Linked DNA regions of Homo sapiens: all the other regions are linked to region 1. Evidence: promoter capture Hi-C in human tissues and cell types (Jung and others, 2019). All regions are on one chromosome and are shown on one strand. The core of a region is centred on a gene start or on the middle of the fragment in contact, and the rest is flanking DNA. Distances in the headings are between cores, read along the strand shown.

Region 1 (4,967 bases), core at 984-3,483:
AAGAATCACTGTGGGGGACATTGGAGTACTACCCTAGAGAGAGGTGAGACTGTAAAAGAAAAACTCTGCATGATGGTGGGGTGACAAAAGACTCTGGAAAGTTTGGGAAGTCCTGGGGTCCTCATCATGGGACTGATATGTGCCATTTCCTGCCTCTCAAGCTCTTCCCAGTTACGGGGGCGGCTCTCTAACCACAGGACAGGCACTACTGTCCCCATTAGAAAAATGGGAAGCAAGAGAGAGGGAGAAACTGAGGCACCATGTAAGTTGAGTGCTGTGTTCAAGGTCACCAGGAAGCTTGGGCAGTCTTTCCTATCTGCTCCTGGTGCTGCGGCTCTGCCTCCCCAGCTCTGTCCCTGTCCCCCCTGCCCCTCCAGCCCCCACCAGCAACTTGGGTTTCCAATCTTGCCTCCAGCTGCACTGGGCCTTGGTTATTTATAGAGTGTCAGATGCCCAGGGTTGTCTGTGCTAGCAGCTGCAGGTCAGCTCCCTCCCAAGTGCCAGGACTGGTGGAGAACCAAAACTGGAGGCTGGAGGTCACAGAAGCCCAACCCCTGGGGGGCTGGGAACATGAGCAGTCGACACAAACAGCTATGTCATCTCTGATGTTCAGACCATGCTTTATGCTAATCTAACCATAGGTTCATCTTAAAACAATCCTGGGTGGAAGGAAGATGGGGAAACTGAGGCAGAGAATGGGGAAACTACCACCACACCAAAGCCATATGGCCATTCTCCTACCTTAAGCTGGGGGTTGGGAATGGCAGGAAGTGAAGTCTGGTTGGGGTTGTGGGGTGGGCAGAGAAATCTCAGGGTAAATGACCTGCCAAGGTAGCTGCTTTGGCATTTGTGGCCCTGTCCCTCTGCCCTGTGGCCTGGCATGGTCTCCAGGCTGACAGCTTAATGAGGGTAAATGAGGAGCCATTAGAACCTGAGCTGGGGCCCCAGGGCACAGCAGGGCTGCTGAAGCCAGAGGTCAAGGCCAGGGAATTTCTAATGGCCCCTTAGGGTTGTAACTCAAGTGGGGTCTCATCTCTGGATCCCTCTCCCTCCTCCTGCAGGCTAGTACCTCACATCCACATCCCCCCATCCCCAAACGGCTGCAGTCTCCTCTCCAATTTCAGCTGGAGGATTAATTGAGGTAGATGGTAAATTCTTATACCTTCCACCCCCACAATGACTCATTGCTTGATCACTGTACATTCTAAAAGCTGGAACCAAACAGAATTACAGGGCTAAGTCCTCTGGGGGAAGTGGTAGGTGGTTTTGATTTATCCACTGTCTTGGATTACTTGTGTAAGTTTACCCTAGCCCTGGTTACTGAGATGAAACCATTTCTCTCCTGGCGCTGGGGACATAAGGGGATAAGGTGCCCCAATCCTCTTATTCCCATACCCGGGGGGCCCCTTCCCAGAGCCCTAACTCCTCCCATTGTCCCCCAAGTCCACACTCACATCAGTGGCCTTCTTCTCGGCCTGCTCCAGTTTCTCCTGGGCCTCCTTCACGGATTCAGAATACTTTTCCACCTCATCCTCTGTCCCCTTCAGCTTCTTCTGGAGGGCCTGCTGCTCCTCCTCCAGCTGGGACAGAGGGGACTTGGTCAGCCAGGCTGGGAGGGGGCCCAGGCCCAGAATGGAGACGCGGTGTGTGTAGGGGCGCTACTAAGATTTGGAGGCTACTGGGATGGAAGCGGAATAACATAAAAGGGACAGTACAGTCAAGGGTACTGGTGGGACCCGTTGAGGGTACAGAGAAAACTTCAGGCCCCAAGGAGCAGGACCAACCGCGCTCTGCAAAGGCAGAGTGGAAACCAGGGGCCTGGGGCTTCCCCAGGCTATTGTAGGGGAGAGAAGCGGCTCTGGCGAAGGCCCTGAGGGTACTGCGAAGGCCCAGCCCCCACCCTGGGTGAGAGAGAGCCTTGGCGGGCAGGCCCGGGGCTGGGGGACCCATGGCAGCGGCCCACCCTTGCCCTAGGCGCGGGGAGAGCAGGCTGCACTGGGCCCGGCCCTAACCTGCTTGCAGCGGTCCTCAGCTTGCTTCTTGTCGGCTTCGGCCTGCTCGGCGCGGTCGATGGCGTTCTCCTTGTCCAGCTTCAGCATCTGCATCTTCTTCTTGATGGCGTCCATGGCTGCGGTGGGGGGTGGGCCGGCCGGCAGGCGGTGAGGACCGGACGGACTGGGCTGGGTGAGCGGACTGGGTGCACCGGTGGCAGGCGAGGAGGACGGAGCGGGACTGGGACGTCCCGGCCACGCGGGCGCCTAAAAGGCGGGGAGGGACCGGGCGGGGCCGGCAACCAGGACCCTCCCCCACCTCGGCCCAAACCTTGTAGGGGCAGAAGCACGGCCCGGCCGGGGGGTGCGGCCGCCCCCTTCGCCCACCCACTGGGGACCGCCTCCCTTGGGGTCCCGCCCCCATCCCCCTCTTCCCTGCCAGCCGTCGGAGGAAAAAGTGGCCGACGGTCGGCTGGAAAAACCCCGGCGATGCGAAGGGGAGGGGACCCTTGGGCTGGGGGCTCCGTGCTTCCTCTGAGTGACAGCCGGACCCAGTGGCAGCTGCGGCTGGGGCCCCTGGGGCTATTTCGGGGCGTGAGCTCACGGCAGCTGCCCGGGCGCAGGGACCGGCGTGCCCCCCCTCAGCTGCAGCAGCCGCTACCCTTAATTTAGAAGTTTCCTGCAAATCCCCCCGGATTAAATGTCTCTCGGGAGGCGGAGCTCCTCGGCAGTTTGAGTGCCTCAGTTTACCCTGAGTCCCTCTAGGTTTGCGTTATCGACGTGGTGGTAGTAGCGGAGTCTCATCGGGAGCTTGGGGAAACTGAAGCAGGAAGCGAGCCCAGAGCCCCGGTCGCGGTGGGGAGTGTGGCCGGGCTTGCTGCCCCCAGGACCGGCCTGACCTCTCATCCCCTCGCCTCCCCTCCCAGCCCCTGCCCCTGGAGCCAGGCCCTTCCTGCGAGCACCCGGCGGCTCAGGACCCAGCTCCCCGCCCCGCCCCCCACGTGCCCCGCATATTTTCCACGCGGCTGCGGCCAGGCTGGTCACCGCGCGTTCCCCGCCCCCGCTCCCACCCGGACGCGTCCCGAGCCCCTCCGCTCCCCGCCCCTGGCTCCGCCTGGCCCCACTCCCCTCCGCGCGCCTTCCCTCTTCTCCCCCGCTCCCCGCGGACGCTCCTCTCTTTCCCAGTGGGCCAACTTTATGCTGAAATTTCTTTTCTGCCCTTTTTTGGGATGTTTCCCCATTGGGAGGCGGAGCCGGGCTGCGGCGGGGAAGGCGGAGGGCGAGGGGAAGAGTCACTGAGCTGCGGGGCATAGGGGGTCCGGGGCGAGGTGCCTTCTCCCACCCAGGCCGCCAAACCAGCGCCGGAGCCGGGTCGTGGGGTCTGGGAGTCGGAGGCGCGAGGCGCGAGGGTGTTTGTTTTCGTTTTTCCCTGGGGTGGGGTGGGGGGAAAGGAAGTGGAGAGCCGCCGGGAGGAGGGGGAAGGGGAGGAGAGAACAAGCGGAGGAAGCCGGGAGGGAGCTGCTAGCCTCGCCCCCACCCTCCAGTCATAGAGGGGCGGGAGGCCTGGATTTTGCAGTGGGCTGGGGACCGTGGGAACCCGAGGCCGCTGGCCGGGGCGGTGGGGAGGTGGCGTGGAAATGCATTCAGATCTGTTTAGCTGCCTGCTAGCCACACGGAGAGCAACCCTGGCCTGACCTCGCAGTGTTCCTCTAACTCCGTGGAAGACGCCTCATCCACCAGTAGCCTATGCTAGACCACTGGGTATCCCCTGCCCTTCGCGTCTCACAACCACCTAATCCTGGAGAGGCTGCCTTCTACCAAGGAGGTTCCTCCTCGGGTCGGTCTGGGCTGGCCTCTGGCCGCGCCTTATGTTTTCTTCAGTCTGTTTTGTAGTCTTACTTCTAGTTCCTCAACTCATTCATTCATTTGACTGTCCCATGACATTGTTGTCAAATATCTTTTTAAAAGTTAATGCGAATATTATCTAAAATTCTCCAAAACCCCTCCCTAATCCCTGTCCCCCCACCTTTTTTGAGACGGGAGCTTGCTAGATTGCCCAGGCTGGTCTTGAACTTATGGGCTTAAGTGATCCTCCCGACTCAGCCTCCTGAGTAGCTGGGATTACAGGCGTGCGGGCACCCTGCCTGTTTTGAGGAGAAAAAAAAAATCCACATTTCTTAATATGGTATAGAAGGCCCGTTGTTTTGGCTGTTGCCTGCCTCTCTGGCCTCATCTCCTTCCATGCCCAACCTCACCCCCAGTATTCATACTTGTACCTCATGCTGCATTCATAATGAGCTACGTGCAGGAGCTGGAAATAGCCATACTTTTCTTAAAGCTTCCACAGTTTATGCATTCTGTTCTCTCTCCCTAAAATGCCCATCCCCTTGGCTGATTCCTGGTGGCCTTTAAGACTCAGTAAGTGTCAGCTTTTCTGGGAAGCCTTCCCTGGCCACTTCTCTTCCCACCGCCTCACCTAATAGGTGCGTGTTCTTGGTGCGGGCTCTCACCCTCATCCTAGTCCCATGGTATAACTGTTCTTATACCGGTTTGGCGCCTCCGCCGGTCTGTGAGTCCTCAACAGAAACGACTGTTCTCAATTCTGAATCCCCAAGGCCTATCACAGCACCAGGCATAGAGTTGGCACTTCATGAACATTTGCCAGATGAGTTTTTTATGTACCAGTTTCTGGGTACTTATCAAATATACTAATACGGTGTGGGTCTTTTGGTCTTAGAACCCATTACACTCTTAAAAAGTATTGAAGACCCCCAAACAGCTTTTTTGTTGAAGTGGGTTATATCTACCAATAGTTGCCATATTAAAATGAAACTTGAGAAAAATTTTAAATATGTATCAATTCGTTAAAAATAACAAAAATAAACTCATTACACATTAATCATGTTAACATAATGTTCTAAATGAAAGATAACTATATTCCCATTCCCCGAATTAATGAGAGTATGGAAATTATTT
Region 2 (4,967 bases), core at 930-3,429, 90 kb before region 1:
TTAGGAGACACTGCTAATGATTTTGAAATGAGGATGACACCTTCAACATACTTTTTTTTTTTTTTTTTGAGACGGAGTCTTGCTCTATTGCCCAGGCTGGAGTGCAGTGGCACAATCTCGGCTCACTGCAACCTCTGCCTCCCGGGCTCAAGCAATTCCCTGCCTCAGCCTCCGGAGTAACTGGGATTACAGGCATGGGCCACCGCACCTGGCCTCGACATATTTTCAAATGCTACAATAAGATTTATATTATAGGCCGGGTGCGGTGACTCACACCTGTAATCCCAACACTTTGGGAGGCTGAGACGGGCAGATCACGAGGTCAGGAGTTTGAGACCAGCCTGGCCAACATAGTGAAACTCCATCTCTAGTAAATATACAAAAACTAGTCGGGCATGGTGGCAAGCGCCTGTAGTCCCAGCTACTCAGGAGGCTGAGGCAGGAGAATCACTTGAACCCAGGAGGCAGAGGTTGTGGTAAGCCAAGATCATGCCACTGCATTCCAGCCTGGGCAACGGAGCAAGACTCTGTCTCAAAAAAAAAAAAAATTATATTGTATTATTACTATTATATGTTATACCTATTCTATATTAGAGAGAACTAATAGGACAAAATGTTAACAATTGTTGGATTTACATGAATGATGTACAGGTGTTCATTATGCATTCCTTCAACTTTTCTGCATGTTTGAATTTTTTCATAATAAAGAGATTAGGGTGACTGTTTTTGAGGGTTTGAGACAGGGTCTTGCTCTGTCGCCTGGGCTGGAGTGCAGTGGCAGCATTATGGCTTACTGCAGCTTCAACCTCTTGGGCTCAAGGATTCCTCCTACCCCAGCCTCCCATGTAGCTGGGACCACAGGCATGCACCACCACTCCTGGCTAATTTTTTGATGTTTTGTAGACAGGGGGCCTCACTTCATTGCTCAGCTTTGTCTCAAACTCCTGGGCTCAAGTGATCCTCCTGCCTCAGCCTCCCAAAGTGCTGGGATTACAGGCATGAGCCCCCATGCCCAACATGGGGATACTATTTTGAGAATAATGAGTAATCAACCACATTCATTTAACTGCTTTTAAGGTCAATAACTTTATATTCCTCTAATACCCAGGTTGTGGTATCCAAACACCATTTCCCACTAAAAAAGACCATGAATCACTGGGGAAAAAAAGTAGCTGATACCAGCTCTGGTCTAGATATGCACAAAATGAGTCCAGAACATTTTATCATATTGGATAGCAAGAAAACTGGAAATTTATGTCAGAAGGACTCAGGAACTAACTTGAATAAGTTCCCACTGGCCAAAATAGGACAGTTTTGGCCAGTGGGAACAAAATAGTGATGGCAGCAGCAGGCTGTCTGCAGTGGCTGCTGCCATCATGCCAGCTGCAGCAGGGAGGCATGGCCAGGGCTGCACATTCCATGGAGCCAACAGGAGCTGGGGACAAGCGGGATCCTTGTCCCTTCCAAGTTGGGGTGGGAGCTCCCTGGGTGCTGCTGCAGCCGCCCAAGCCACGGCTGTGGACCCAGGCATCCCTGTGCTTTCAGGACCGGGAGCAGACAGGAGCCCTACCTTTCCAGGCGCAGCTGCAGCCACCCAAACCACAGCTGCAGACTCAGGCCTCCTGCTCAGCAGAGCAGGCAGGAGCCCCGCCCCTGCCAGGTGTAGGTGCAGCCACTCAAAGAGTGGCTGCAGACTCAGGAATCCCTGCCCTCTTGGGGCCCCAGAAGGCCTCACAGGCTCAGAAATTCCTGCTCCAACTGCCTGGCTTCTTCCTGCTGTTGGTGCCCACTCCAATCTCAGAACAAAGTCCGAGCAGAGCCTGGGCACTGTCACAGCCTGGCCGAGTGTGCACATACTCGGAGCAGTGCTGACACACCAGTCCCCTGCTGCTTTGGTCCCCTACAGATTTTGGGTGCCAATGAGCATAGGAGGGAAGCCAAGTGGGGTCTGAAGGCAGCTCAGCACTGGCCTGCAGGCGCCTCTTGGCACCTACAGCCTGGGCACCATGAATGGCAGCAGGAGGCAGACAGGCTTCTGAGCGGATGGGGCAGGTCCCTGGTAAGGCCCCACTTTCAGGCCAGGGAGGGCCTGAAGGCTGGGGACCGGGCTGCCCATCACACTATGGGAGTGGGAACTTGTGGTGACACTTCCAGGCCCACCCATGGCTGCCCAGGACCAACTGGCATGCACTTCCTCCCCTCTAAGGCCCATAAAAGCCCAGGCTCTGAGCAGACGTCAGGACAATCAGCTGCAGAGAGGAGCTACCCACACCAAGGCCTCCTCTCTGTGAGAGCCGCAGATGTTGGGACAACCAGCTGCAGAGAGGAGCAACCAACTTTGGGGCCTCCTCTCTGCTGAGAGCTGCAGAGACTACAGGATGACATACCTGCAGAGAGAAGCCACCCACTCTAGGGCCTCCCCTCTGCTGAGAGCTGCACAGATGACAGGACAACCAGCTGCAGAGAGACGCTACCCTCCCTGCTGATAGCTGAACACTTGTCAGGACGACTTGCCTAGCAGAGAGGAGCTACCCTCTCTGCTAGGAGCTGAACATGCCTCAGGACACCCCTGCTAGGGAAAGGAGCTGCCCCCTGCAGGTTTCTTTTGAGCTGTTCTATTGCTCAATAAAGCTACTCTTTGTCTTGCTCACTCTTCACTTGTCTGCGTACCTCATTCTTCCTGTCGCAGGACAAGAACTCAGGACCCACCAAATGGTGAGGCTAAAAGAGCTGTAACAAACGGGGGTGAGACATGACCCTTGCTTGCCACGTTGTGGGTGAAGGCAAGGAAAGAAGAACTGCAGCCCTTCGGGGAGCCTAGCCCTGGGAGCTCCCCAAGCCAGGGCTGTGACTTCCTCTTTGAGGACCTGCTGTTCCTGGCATCTCCAAGCTTCCAGGCACCAATGTGTCCCCCAGTGCCAGCTGTGGAAGCTGCTTGCCATGTGCCTGGTCCGGCCGCAGGCTTGCAGGGAAATGGTGCCATGCTGGCACCTGGAACTGCCCGCCCCACTGCAGCACCCGGAATGTCTGACTGTGCACAGTGGCTGGACCCAATGCTCACTCACATACCCCTAACTGTTCCACGCCTGTCTCACCCTTGGCAGGCATGGGACCCAGGCTGGTAGCGTGAGCCAAGCACAGGCTGCCAGGCTGGGTAGGCGAAACAAGCCCAGAGGGCCTGAGCAAAACTGGGGCAAAAGCACCACCAGCCACAGAGGTTTCTGGCCAGAAAAAGGACGCCCCAAAGATCCCGTAACAATAGGACAAGCACCAAAAATGATAACTGGGCGCAGTGGCTCACGCCTGTAATCCCAGCACTTTGGGAGGCCAAGGCAGGAGGATCACCTGAGGTCAGGAGTTTGAGACCAGCCTGGCCAACATGGTGAAACTCTGTCTCTACTAAAAATACAAAAATCAGCCGGGCGTGGTGACAGGTGTCTGTAATCCCAGCTACTCAGGAGGCTGAGACAGGGGAATCGCTTGAACCTGGGAAGCGGAGTTTGCAGTGAGCCGAGATCACACCACTGCACTCTAGCCTGGGTGACAGAGCAAGACTCCATCTCAATCAATCAATCAATCAATAACTGGGCTGGGTGCAGTGGCTCATGTCTGTAATCCCAGCACTTTGGGAGGCCAAGGCAGGAGGATCACTTGAGGCCAGGAGTTTGAGACCAGCCTGGGCAAAACATGGTGAGACCCTGTCTCTACAAAAAAATTAAAAATTAGCCAGGTGTGATGGCACGTGCTTGTAGTCCCAGTTACTTGGGAGGCTGAGATGAGAGAATCACTTGAGCCCGGGAGGTCAAGGTTGCAGTGAGCTTTGTGCCACTGCACTCCAGCCTGAAAAAGAGTGAGACCCGTCTCAAAAAGAAAAAAAAGATAACTAGCAATAATTGAGTATATCACATATGTGTTAAATTATGAGTTCATAATGGTACTTTAAAAAAAACCTCATCGGTCAACTTTGGAAGATGCTGGGGAACCAACTCATTACTTTGAAAGCTGGTAAAATAAGTGAGAAACAATCAAGTATTTATTCTGCCTTTCCTAGGAAATGTATCTCTGTGTAACAAATAGTTAATGTGGAAAAGTTTCTCCTTATAGAATTATTCTACCTAATACTTCTATAGGAATTCATTCAAAGAAGGAATGATAATATTATTTTCTAACTTTTTATTTATTTTGAGACAGGGTCTTGCTATGATGCCCAGGCTGGACTCGAACTCCTGGGCTCAAGCAACCCTCTCGGCTCAACTTCCCATGTAGTTGGGACTATAGTCGCGTGCCACCATGCCCAGCTTTAACTCCTCTATTAATGAACCTAGACCAGTGGTTCTTATTCAGGGTCAATTTTGTCCCCCAGAGGACAAATGGCAATGTCTAGACACATTTTTTTATTGTTACAGTCAGGAGGAGGTGCTACTGGCATCCATTAGGTAGAGGCCAGAGATGCTGCTAAGCATCCTACAATACACAGGACAGCCCCTACAATAAAGAATTTTCCAGCCCAAAATGTCAATAGTGCCACGGTTGAGAAACAAATATCAGTTATTAAAATCACAAAAAGACCACCACTGTATACCTCCTGTATACCTCCTGATAGAAGTGCTAAAACCATCTACAAATTAGTTTTGCCAAAAGAAATCTAAATTTGATTAAGTTACCAATTTATATCAAATACAGAGGATGGAGGAACATGCTAAATTACCACAGAAATCAAGACTCTAAGAAACTCTACAGGACAAATGAACCAGTTTTAAAAAATAGTAAGAAAAAAGATGGAGAATAAGCATAGATCTGCAAAGACTTAAGAAACATATGGCTGGGTGTGGTGGCTCACACCTATAATCCCAGCACTTTGGGAGGCCAAGGCGAATGGAATGCTTGAGCCCAGGAGTTGAGACCAGCCTGGGCAACGTGGCAAACCCCATCTCTACAAAAATACAAAAATTAGACAGGTGTGGTGG
Region 3 (4,967 bases), core at 1,691-4,190, 73 kb after region 1:
AGAGCAGAATATCCTCATGAATAGAGTTTCTCAGTGACACTGTTAACATTTTGGAGGATAATCCTTTGTTGTGGGGGGCTGTCCTGTGCATCGTAGGATGCTTAGCATCTGCTCAGTAGATGCCAATGATATTATCTCAGATGTGACAACCAAAATGTCTCCAAATCCTGCCAAATGTTCCTGGAAGACAAAATATACCCTCTACTCCAGTGTATAGAATTACTGTACTAGAATATCAGCTTTTTGAAATTGATTAAATGGTTATACTTTCTCTTCCCAACTGCTGATTTGTAGCTGGAATTTTAAAAGTGTGGTCTTTGACTTACTTGGTAGGTGGTAGCTTCTTAAAATTGCAGGTTCCTGAGCTTATCCTAGACCTACTGAATCAGAAACGCTGAAGGTAGAACCCAGAGATCTGATTTTTACAAGACACTACCTTCCCACCCCCAACCAGGTAATTCTGCCCTAGGCTTGACCCTCCTGTGGCATAACTGCTGCATTATCTACATTTTTTTCTCCTGCAAGTCTTCCTGGTGTTCCAGCTTTGCTTCCGCTTTTGGCCCCATGATGCCAACACAAATAAGGAGGCCTCAGGTTACCAAGACAACTGGAGCACAGGAAACTGTACAGGCTCAGTGCTCCCACAAGCATCATGGACTGTGATTATGCTGGCTTGCTTTCTCCTTAGGGACTCAGCCATACTTCCTTTTCCCCATCCCCAAAACTACCCAGACTGGCAGAGACTGAGGCCCAAGCCACAGATCCTGATTTCACAGACCTGGTAGTAGATTTATGGGGTGGGTAGGATAAGGAATGATGAATGAAGCTTTCCTTCTAGCATTGATATTTCATGTCATTTTGGTGATAATTGAATTTGTAATCATGAGAACTACATTTCCCTGGGAGTTGGTTGTTAGATGCAAGTTTTGGAATCAGGATGCTTCTCTTTATTTATTATGTTATTTATGCCTGCTTCACTGGACCTTGAGTCTTAGATGTTTTTGCATCCCTAGCTAAATGTCTTTACAATTTGCTTTGGGCCAAAAGGTTTGGCAATCTACTTCTAGTACACTGGAAGCAGCTAATGTTCAGTAAGAAAAGAATATTTTTAGGGCCAGGTGCATGGCTCATGCCTGTAATCCCAGCACTTTGGGAACATGAGGCAGATGGAGTGCTTGAGTCCAGGAGTTCAAGACCTGCCTGGGTAACATGACAAAACCCTGTCTCTACAAAAAAGAATACAGAAATTAGCCAGGTGTGGTGGTGCACTCCCGTAGTCTCGGCTACTTGGGAGGCTCAGGTGAGAGAATCACTTGAGCCTGGGAGGTCGATGCTGCAGTGAGCCATGATTGTGCCACTGCACTTCAGCTTGGGTGACAGAGCAAGACCCTGTCTCAAACAAACAAACAAACAAACAAAAAACCCCAAAAAAACAAAAACAACCAAATAATGAATTTGGGTTCTATTTACACTTAGTTATCAAAGCTAGTCATTTTTTAAAGGAGGATCATCTGGCTTGATTAAATTAAGTTTCCTTAAAGCCACAAATAAATGAAAACCTACTTGCACTTAGATGCTTTAAAATACTGACTCTGACTGGGTGTGGTGGCTCACACCTGTAATCCCAGCACTTTGGGAGGCCGAGGCAGGCAGATCACTTGAGGTCAGGAGTTTGAGACCAGCCTGGTCAACATGGTAAAACCCCCCATCTCTACCAAAAATACAAAAAATTATCCAGGCATGTTGGCACATGCCTGTCATCCCAGCTGAGGCAGGAGAATCACTTGAACCTGAGGCAGAGGTTGCAGTGAGCCGAGATCAGTGTGAGATTCTGTTGAAAAAAAAAATTCAACTTGATCCAAAACAGGAGCAGGCTGCCTCCATGGTATATTCATGTCATGCCAGAGCAAGAGCAAGGGAGAATACAAGGAAATAAGGCAGACATGATAGCTCTCCTCAGACAATTGAAGGACTGTCATGATGAAGGAGCAATTAGATTTACTGGTTTAGTTCCAGAAGATAGATTAAGAACTTTTATTTAGTGATGGAGGACAAATTTTGGCTTGATAAGGAAATTTTGACTCATTTGAGGACCCCAAAGTGGAATGAACTGAATTGTTAGGCAGTAAATTTTGGCCATATTGTTCATATAGAGGTTAGATGACCGTTTGCACAAGGGTCGGATGAGGTTTTAGACATTAAATTGGGTTCAACCTGCAAGGAGAAGCAGGCAGATTTAGGAAAAGTCAATTCGCCCTTTTTCTGTCATATGATTCTGTGGCACTATTAAATTCATTATTATTTTTCTAGGCACCTCTGTCAATTTTACCCCCTCAAGTAATTGATAATAGAGTTGATAGTAAAGTCTTTAGAGATTTCTCAAACTTTGTTCCTCAGCCCTCTGGAGATTTCTGAAGGATGCCTCAGAAGTGGCTGAGAAGGGTGAAATGAAGGCTAGCTGGGGCTCTGAGCCCTTTTACCTATGCTTCAACCAGAACAATCTTGCTTTTATTTGTTTTACAAATTAAACGTACTGGCTTCCTTGAAGATTTTCTTTTTAACGGAAAAAAAAAAACAGTTCTGCTGTTAAAAAAAAAAAGTTAAAGGCTCTGATATTTCAAGGTGTTCCTTTTATTGAAAGGGAAGCTGAGATACGGAAGAAGTGTCTTGCCAGAGGTCACACAGCTAGTAAATTTCAGAGCTGGGATTCAAATCTAGCTCTTCTAGTTCAAATCTTTTGTTTCTTCCACTCTACAAGTCTGCCTTGTTAGAATTCAATGAAAGCTTCTCTCCATTCTACTGGCCACCACTGTAATCCAGAATCTCATTTCTTCTAATTTACTATTCTGTATTAGCCACTTAACTAGTCTCCTTGCTGTCTAATTCTGTTCTATATTATATATACTGTTGCCATTTTATTCTTCTTGGAACATTGTTTTCGTCCTGAGATTTCCCTGTTTAAGAACCTTCTCCCTATCTCTTAGAACTTTTCAGGCTAACCTTGTGTTAGCATTCTTTAGGATCCTCATTGTTCAGCTGAATGAGAGCCTAAATCCATCCTATTATGAGTAATTAATGGGCTATATAATAGTGAGATTAACGGAGTCCCTCCCTATTCCTAGACTTCACCTTTGGCAAGATTTTCATGTGTACAGTTTTAATCAGGCATGACAAGAAGATACAAAAGAAACAGAAAATCACAGCCCATAAAAAGCAAGTTACATAATAATATGAATAATACAATCCTATTTATATCTCACATGCATGCATTTTTTAAAACAAGAATGAGATATATAGAAATTGCCTGGAAGAAAACACATCAGACTGGGCGCGATGGCTCACGCCTGTAATCCCAGCACTTTGAGAGGCCAAGGCAGGCAGATCACCTGAGGTCAGGAGTTCGAGACCAGCCTGGCCAACATGGCGAAACCCTGTCTCTACTAAAAATACAAAAATTAGCCGAGTGTGGTGGTGTATGCCTGTTATCCTAGCTGCTTGGGAGGCTGAGGCAGGAGAATCGCTTGAACCTGGGAGATGGAGATTGCAGTGAGTCAAGATCTTGCCACTGCACTCCAGTTTGGGCAACAGAGTGAGACTCCATCTCAAAAAAAAAAAAAAAAAAAGAAAAGAGAAAAGAAAAAACTCATCAGACTGATGACAGACATTAACTCTGATAAGAGAGATTGAGAAAGGAGAGAGAGGAGGGGAGGAAGAGGGACTTCCTTTTTTTACTCAGGAGGCTGAGGTGGGAGGACGGCTTGAGGCTAGGAGGTTGAGGCTGTAGTGAGCCATGATCATGCCACCACACTCAGCCTGGGAGACAGAGTGAGACCCTGTCTTGAAAATAAAATAAAATAAAAAGAAGAAGAAGAAAAAAGAAGTGAAGTGTTTTGTTTTCCCACAATGGAGATCTTTTGAAGCATTATCCTTTTGGGAAAAAGTTAATTTCAATTCTTAGCACTTGGTCTGATTTTTAAAAATTCGACTTAAGCTAATGATGAGAAGTGTGCATATTCACACTCTTTAACTCCTGTGGATTGGATAACAAATTAACCTCCATTTCCACTGGACAGAGAACTCATTCTTCCGGTATGTTTCAGAAGGCTAATGGAGCAAGGATAACCTTATATTACTAATGGGCTGCTTAATCTCTATAATGATTTGTTGGCCAGCTACTATTGATAACAAAAAATACTTTTAAATAACTGTTTCAAAATACTTTTTTCAACTTTATTGAAATATAATTTATATACAGGAAGATGTACCCATTTAAAATGTACAATTCAGTGAGTTTTAGCAGATGTATATACCTGTGTAATCATCTTCCCAGTCAAGATGTAGAACATCTCTGTCACCACCCCACCACTGCCCCCAAATTTCCTTATTACCCTTTGCATTTACTCCTCACTCATTGCAATCCACACTGATCTGGTTTCTATCACTGTAGATTTGTTTTGTAGAGTTTCATGTAAATGGAGTCACAGAGTATGTATTCTGCATTTGGCTTCTTTAACTCAGCACACTGTTTTTGATATTTATTCATGTTTTTATGTATATTAATAGTTTGGCCAGGCACGATGGCTCACTCCTATAATCCCAGCACTTTGGGATGCCGAGGTGGGCAGATCATGGGAGGTCAGGAGTTTGAGGCCAGCCTGGCCAACATGGTGAAATCCTGTCTTGACTAAAAATACAAAAACTAGCCAGGCGTGGTGGTGCACACCAGTAGTCCCAGCTACTCAGGAGGCTGAGGCAGGAGGATCTCTTGAACTCAGGAGACAGATTGCAATGAGCCAAGATGGCGCCACTGCACTCCAGCCTGACAACAAAGCAAGACTCTGTCTCAAAAAAAAAAAAAAAAGAAGTCCATTTTTATTGCTGAGCAATAATTCATTGTATGGACATACAGCAGTTTGTTTATTCATTCATCTGATGATGGATATTTGGGCTGTTTTCCACTTTTTTGG

The links. The method cuts DNA at HindIII sites, captures the fragments that hold promoters and counts their contacts. A contact is called where the count stands out against the background at its distance.
Region 2: a fragment that was not itself captured here is called in contact with the fragment with the promoter of TPM2 in region 1 in 3 of the 25 tissues and cell types used here (dorsolateral prefrontal cortex, lymphoblastoid cells and spleen).
Region 3: a fragment that was not itself captured here is called in contact with the fragment with the promoter of TPM2 in region 1 in 6 of the 25 tissues and cell types used here (dorsolateral prefrontal cortex, heart left ventricle, heart right ventricle and 3 more).

What each region holds. Positions count from the first base shown.
Region 1 is chr9:35,687,692-35,692,658 of GRCh38, forward strand. It overlaps TPM2 (tropomyosin 2), which reads right to left and starts at 2,234. Exons shown (of 9, transcript NM_003289.4): 1 at 2,013-2,234; 2 at 1,455-1,580. The coding sequence starts at 2,126. RefSeq lists an enhancer at 199-676 and a silencer at 3,572-3,651. The HindIII fragment of the contact is 5,966 bases long and covers 1-4,967 here.
Region 2 is chr9:35,597,415-35,602,381 of GRCh38, forward strand. No RefSeq gene overlaps it. Among named protein-coding and RNA genes, the nearest start is that of TESK1, 5.4 kb to the right of the region's middle. RefSeq lists silencers at 1,598-1,892, 2,462-2,581 and an enhancer at 1,632-2,272. The HindIII fragment of the contact is 9,787 bases long and covers 1-4,967 here.
Region 3 is chr9:35,760,278-35,765,244 of GRCh38, forward strand. It overlaps a transcript of RGP1 not described here. Among named protein-coding and RNA genes, the nearest start is that of MSMP, 8.5 kb to the left of the region's middle. The HindIII fragment of the contact is 6,133 bases long and covers 1-4,967 here.